Linked DNA regions of Homo sapiens: region 1 is linked to region 2. Evidence: promoter capture Hi-C in 16 types of primary human blood cells and fetal thymus (Javierre and others, 2016). All regions are on one chromosome and are shown on one strand. Each heading gives the region's core, a stretch centred on a gene start or on the middle of the fragment in contact. The rest is flanking DNA. Distances are from core to core; before and after follow the strand shown.

Evidence for each region. The method cuts DNA at HindIII sites, captures the fragments that hold promoters and counts their contacts. A CHiCAGO score of 5 or more calls a contact.
Region 1: a contact is called between the fragment with the promoter of NPTN here and the fragment with the promoter of ARIH1 in region 2, in 1 of 17 cell types (monocytes). The highest score is 5.2, in monocytes.

What each region holds. Positions count from the first base shown.
Region 1 is chr15:73,631,665-73,634,886 of GRCh38, forward strand. NPTN (neuroplastin) reads right to left here and starts at 1,725. Exons shown (of 9, transcript NM_012428.4): 1 at 1,461-1,725. The coding sequence starts at 1,551. RefSeq lists silencers at 1,242-1,501, 1,582-1,881. The HindIII fragment of the contact is 2,824 bases long and covers 1-2,000 here.
Region 2 is chr15:72,472,627-72,475,752 of GRCh38, forward strand. ARIH1 (ariadne RBR E3 ubiquitin protein ligase 1) reads left to right here and starts at 1,704. Exons shown (of 14, transcript NM_005744.5): 1 at 1,704-2,388. The coding sequence starts at 2,014. TMEM202-AS1 (TMEM202 antisense RNA 1) reads right to left here and starts at 1,613. Exons shown (of 4, transcript NR_135678.1): 1 at 1,249-1,613. RefSeq lists enhancers at 1,068-1,167, 2,618-2,827 and silencers at 1,408-1,747, 1,599-1,795, 1,838-2,067. The HindIII fragment of the contact is 10,721 bases long and covers 1-3,126 here.

The DNA.
Region 1 (3,222 bases), core at 475-2,974, 1.2 Mb after region 2:
CAATAAACAATGAAAGATTAGCAAAAATAATTTATAGTTCACTCTCCAGTACTGACTTCTCATAAATTCCTTCACAGAAAAAATATTCTTTAACCTCTTAATGGCTGTTTCCACAAGGGCAGAAACAGGTTCACAATCCTAGACTCACTTGTGAAAGATCAATTCAGCAGCTGAATGCTAACACATGTCTTCAATCAGAATCTGCTCTGTTTAGGTCCCTATGCCCATGATTCCCCACCACTTCTCCATCTTCTCAAAGGAGCTTCAATTCAAAACCCAGTAATTCTCTGCTTTCTACTGTACCACCTCCCAGGGGCCACTTTCATGTTCCTCGGAAATAACGTCTCTTCTGTCTTGAAACTTTTAAATCTCAAAAATCCACTTCCCCATCTCCCTGTCGCCAGTCACTGCCCTCAATCCCACCACTGCAATTAGTTGCAGCTATGTGTCCCTGTTTTCCCAAAGGCCCGACCAATATCATACAGCATTTGCCACATCCCAACTCCTCCCTTCCCTAATTTATCCTCCACACTGCAAACCAACATTACACCCCCGACTTCCTGCATTTTACTCCCTTCCCTTATTTTTCGTCTTCCCCCACCCCCATCTCTATACCCAGGCCTCCTTACTTCTCTAATAAATATTCCCCCACCTCAGTTCCAACCCTTTCCCTCCATCCTCTGCTCATTTTCCTCTCCTTATTTAGAAACTCCTTTTTGCTCTCCCAACCACTACCCTAGAATGCCCAGCACTCCACCCTCTTTAGCAAACCCAGCCCTCTTCCCCCAGCTCATTTGGAGACACTGCTGCTTCTCTCTCCAGGTCCCCTACTGCAGTCAACCCACTCCCTCATCTTCCCACCCACCTTCCCTCTATCCCTAGATCCAAGGTTCCCTGATTCTTTACCCCCTCCTTTGGTCTCTAGTACTCAGCTCACCATTAGTGTTCCTCAGGACTCTCTTCCCCCCAATTTCCCCCTTATTTTTAAGGATGTCACCAGTCCTACGGGGCCTCAGTAGAATCCTGGACGACCCCAGCTCCCGGGGGGCCTGACGGACACCACCATCCCCGTCGCCCGGAACACAAACGCCGGTCTTGTGCCACCCTCCCTAAGAGCTGCGCCCCCTCCTCATCCGCCCCCGCTACTCCAGCTCCCCACGTCGGCTTCCTCCGTGTCCCCTCGCCGACCCGGCACGACGAGCCCCACGACGTGGAGCCTCCGAGTGGGCAACACCTCGGGCTCACCCCGGACGCCCCCGCCGCTCGGATAGGAGCCTCCGGTCCTCACACCCGCGCCTCCTCAAACCCGCAGCCGGTACCTCCTCTCGGACCCGCAGCCCCTCAGACGCCCACTCGGCCCCCTTCCCCGAGCTCCAGCGTCTCCTCAGGCCAGAGCCGGGCCCCCTCCGGCCCCGGCGCCCCTCAACCCCCGCCCGGCCCGCCCCCGGCGCCCCGCTTACCGTTCTGAGCGGCGCCTGGCCCTGGGAGGAGGGAGCCAGAGACCAGCAACAGCGAGAGGGCCAGGGCGCTGGGCAGCGACGAACCCGACATCCTCCCTAGCAGAAGACCCAACAGCGAATGGGCCGGGGCCAGAGCCGGGGCCGGGGAAGGGAGGGGAGGGAGGGAGGGGGCGGGCGAGTGCGCGAGGGAGTGAGCGAGGGAGGCAGCCGCGGCTCGGCTCCGTCCTTCCCCGTCCTCCTCCTGCCGCCGCAGCGCCCAGGCCTCGCGAGACCTTCGCTCCGGGTCGTGGGCGGCTGAGGAGCGACCGCCGCAAGGATCGCGAGAAGAGGCGGCTCCGACGGAGACTCCCGCCCCGCGGACTCGGTGGCCCCGCCCCTGCAGAGGCTGATTGGCCTAGCGCGAGGTAGGTCACGTGCCGAGGGCGCCTCTGGCCATGTGACGGGGCGAGGCGGGACTCCGCTAGCTCTCTGGGCAGTGGGGAGCTGGGAAGTCCTTCAGTTTACTCCTCTGTGGCCCGGGAGCACCCATAAATAAGAGGAAGCTTTGGAACACAGTACATTTCCTCCACCCATCCTGCCTTTCATTTGTTAGCGCTCTTGGCTACAGAGTTTCATACACCGTGCCTCCTTTCCTCCTTCCTCTCTTTGTCCCCGTCCTGCTGTTTCTTCCTTCTGGACTTTGAACATAGACCTCTACTGGTAACTGGCTCCAACCTCCTTCTCTCATCTGCTGTTTTTTCCTTCCAGGAAAAGTGGTGCGCCCCCTGTGCCCCCGTTACCTTGTGCTTTCCTGCCTGGACATCTGCTCCCTTTGCCTGAAATGTCCTCCTTTGCCGCCTCTGCCTACTCCCCCTCCCACCCCACATCTGGGCCTTATTTTAGCTTCATAGACTCTCAGGGCCTGAAGTTCAGCTAGCCTAATTGCATGTTCATTGACACAATTCTACAAGGAAGTCGTGTATGAACTTACATGAAGACTCCTAAGAAGCGTCTTAATGCGGAAAACATTTATTGAGAACGTGCTGTGTGCCAGGCACATAGTGAAACCCACATGAAAAGGTAGTCCCCGTCCTCATGGAGTGCACTGCCTAGGCTAGCAGAGGAGTGAGGAAGGGTCAAATGGCCCCATAGGAAAGGATCTAGCAAAGCACTCTGGAGGGTGATTGGCAGTGTGGTTACTACTGTTTGCATAGAAGTTTGGGAAATGCTCTTTTTAGGGGTATTTTTTGTACTACCCTCAGGGCTTGTGGTTGGCAAAGGAATTTCTATGGCTTAGCTCATCCCTGACTCACAGCAGACGTCCTGGGAGTGTCTGTGGAAACTCTGAGGGGCCAAGTAAACAGTCCTGGTGGCCTGACTTGATTTAAAGAGAGGGTTTGGAGGACCTGGAAGAAGGAGACCCTCGCAATCTCTATCAAGCTAAAGTGGTCTGGAACTTTCAACAGGAACTGAACAGCTGGTGGTTCCAGACCAAAATTTCTAGCAAAGGCCAGGACCACTATGGCATGTTGTTGATTGAAGTGAAAACTATGTCCTTCAAAACCTCAGGTGTGTGAGTGACAAAAAGATTGGCATGTACCTTCATCTGGACAAAGGCCATTCTGCAGACAGCCCAGTAAGGAGGGCTACAGGGCTGCCTGTGGTGGGATCAAGATTTTCAGCTGATGGAAGCTTTGGTTGGATGCAACCATTCTGCCTCATTATAGCTGTAACAAATGTGGCTCTTTGATCCTTACAACAAGAGATTCTTACAAAATGATCA
Region 2 (3,126 bases), core at 454-2,953:
CTCTACTAAAAATACAAAAATTAGCCTGGGGTGGTGGCATGCGCCTGTAGTCCCAGCTACTCAGGAGGCTGAGACAGGAGAATCGCTTGAACCTGGGAGGCAGAGGCTGCAGTGAGCTGAGATCACCACTGTACTCCAATCTGGGCAACAGAGCGAGACTCCGTCTCAAGAAAAAAACAAACAACAACAACAACAACAAAAACCTAGACTACCAGTATTGAGGTTAAATGCTTTACTTTGTAAATCCTGAGGTTAAGAAATATAATTATCGGTATTTTAAAACTTACAAAATGGACAAATTGGAAGAGGCTTTTTAACATTATAATGGAATTTTTCACTTTTCAAAATCAATTTCCAAAGGGAACCTATAGGTTGAACAGTAAGATTTATCAACAAATCAGGGGTTTTGATTTTAAAAGGTTTTCAATCTGGCCAATTCTTCAGATTATCTCAAGAGGGAGCCTTCTTATGCCTCTTCTTCCTTCATAACACTTCTCTGGCTCGCATGTCCTGTTTGCAAAGATTTAAGCCCACTCTTAGGCATAAAATGCTCTTAACTGACATGACCCCTGACTAACTTGCCTAATATTTTGCCATGTACCCTCCATGCACTTTAAGCTCCCCAAACTATTACTTACTTGACACCTTCTGCGCTTTTGCTTGTTCTCTGCGGCTAGACCATCTTCCCTACCTTCTCTGTTGAACTCCTAGCCATTCATCAACACTCAGCTCACATAGCACACTTTCAGATGAGATTCAAGCATTATCTCTCTGGCTACATTTGGCCCTTGTAGATATTTCTATTATTGCCTGTATTTTGTTGAAGCATTCATGTCTTTTATGTACTACATAGTACATAATATATCTACATTACAAAGCATTTTTATGATTCATGTTTTGGGGCATCCAGCGGTTAAAATAGGGCAAGGGTTATGTGGTCTTGGCCAGGTCCCTTTTCCTTTCTGAGCTTCAGGTTCCTCAGGTATAAAATGGGTACTATGGCTCCGTGAAGATGAGACAGAATATATGTAAAGCCCTTACACAGTGCTCAATTCATGAAAATCATCGCTGTTTACATTGTTTAGGGCCCTCAAGAGGCGCTCTTGTCAGCGGGGTGGAGGAAATGCCTCTTTAAAATGACGTCATTATAGGAGACTTAAAAACCACTGCACGTCTGTACAAGTGGACAGAATCACACAGCTACCTAAAGTGGGTTCACCTGTCATACAGTTTAGAGGTTCCACTTACAACAGGTTTCCATCAGTAGCCAAAGCAACAGAAATTTTAGCTTAACGGCTGAGGGCTTCCGGGATTACCGCAGGGCGGGCGGGAAGCGCCTTTCCGCTCCGGAGGGAAGGCCGCGTCCCCAAGGGACTGCCTAAGTGGGCTGGATCCCTATGGCCTGCGGCAGACACCACCACGTAGGCGGTCCAGGGGTCCCTCTCTCGGTGACTGGTGACCAGGAGGCCGCAATCTCTTCACATAAAAGGTCTACGGGTTTCCGCTCGGCCCTCACAGCGGCAGCGGATCGAACCAGGAAAGCAATTCCCGCTCGGCTCCCCTCGGGTCCCAGGCCCAGGAAGGCCGGGCCGTGGGGTCTCCCCGGGCTCCACGCAGGGGCGGTGGGGCGGGGCGCAGTGACGCAAAGAGGAGTGACGCGACGACGCAGCGCGACGCGGTGACGCACGCCCCTTTGTTGGCTCAGTAGCGATAGCAGCGGCCGTGGAGGTGGCGTTGGGGACTGTTTTCTCTCGGAGGCCGGAGCGGAGCCGCGTCTGACTGAGGCGGGCAGCAAGCGGCCCCCTCGCTCCCTCCCTCCCTCCTCCGCGCCCTCCCCGCCGCCACCAGCCGTCAAACGCCAACCGCCGCTCCTGGGGAGGAGCCGCGGCTCGCGGGGCCGGAGCCAGGCCTGCGTCCGGACATCAGCCGGAGCCGGAGCGAGAGCCGGGGCCTCGGCGTCCCCGCCCTCTCCCCGCCTCGGCCAGCGTCCGCCGGGCCCCCGCGCGTCGCGCCATGGACTCGGACGAGGGCTACAACTACGAGTTCGACGAGGACGAGGAGTGCAGTGAGGAGGACAGCGGCGCCGAGGAGGAGGAGGACGAAGACGACGACGAGCCGGACGATGATACCCTGGATCTGGGCGAGGTGGAGCTGGTGGAGCCCGGGCTGGGCGTCGGCGGGGAGCGGGACGGACTGCTGTGCGGGGAGACGGGCGGTGGCGGCGGCAGCGCTCTGGGGCCCGGCGGTGGCGGCGGCGGCGGCGGCGGCGGTGGTGGTGGCGGGCCGGGGCATGAGCAGGAGGAGGATTACCGCTACGAGGTGCTCACGGCCGAGCAGATTCTACAACACATGGTGGAATGTATCCGGGAGGTCAACGAGGTCATCCAGGTGAGGGTGGCCGCCGCGCCAGCTGGACCGGGCCCGACGGGGGAGCGGATTCAGGCGGCACGCGCGGTCCCGAGGGACAGGCCTGGGCCTGGTGCGCAGCCTAGCCCGGTGCCTCCCGGCCTTGTCTTCTCCGCTGCCTCTGCTGGGGATAGAGGGTGTCGAAAGCAGAGGTTCGCCGATTAGCCGGGTGTGGGGAGGTGCGCTGGGGGCGGTGCTTCCCAAGTCCTGCTATGGCGGAGGCCTTCGGTCGCCTAAGCCTTCTCTTGCGGGCAATTTCTGCCAGTCCCTGGGCCGGGTGTCCTTTCTCTGGCCGGGCGATCGCCTACTGGGGCGGGGCGGAGGAGGTGGGGTGGAGAAGAGGAGTCAGGAAGAATTGGGCCCTGACGGGACTTACCCCGGCCGTAGCCTCATTTGAGCACTTTTGGAAGGGATTAGAGTAGGCCTAAGAGCAGCTTGGTGTACAGTTGCCCCAAGTGGGCACCAGTTAATAAAGAAATGGATCTTGGCAGTCTCAAGTGCCTACTTAAAGGTGGGGGAAGGGAAGTATTTCTCGGAAGAGGTGCTGATGGGCCTTCTTTTCAGATGGTGAGGCTTCTGCTTACATCTTTTTTATGTCTTTGCTGTTTGGGACCTAATTGCTACTTTTTCTAGTCGTAGCAGATGACTTGCTTGAAGCTGTTGGAATAGTTACTGCATATTGCATACCCTTCCTTGTAGCTAAAACAACAACAAAACGCA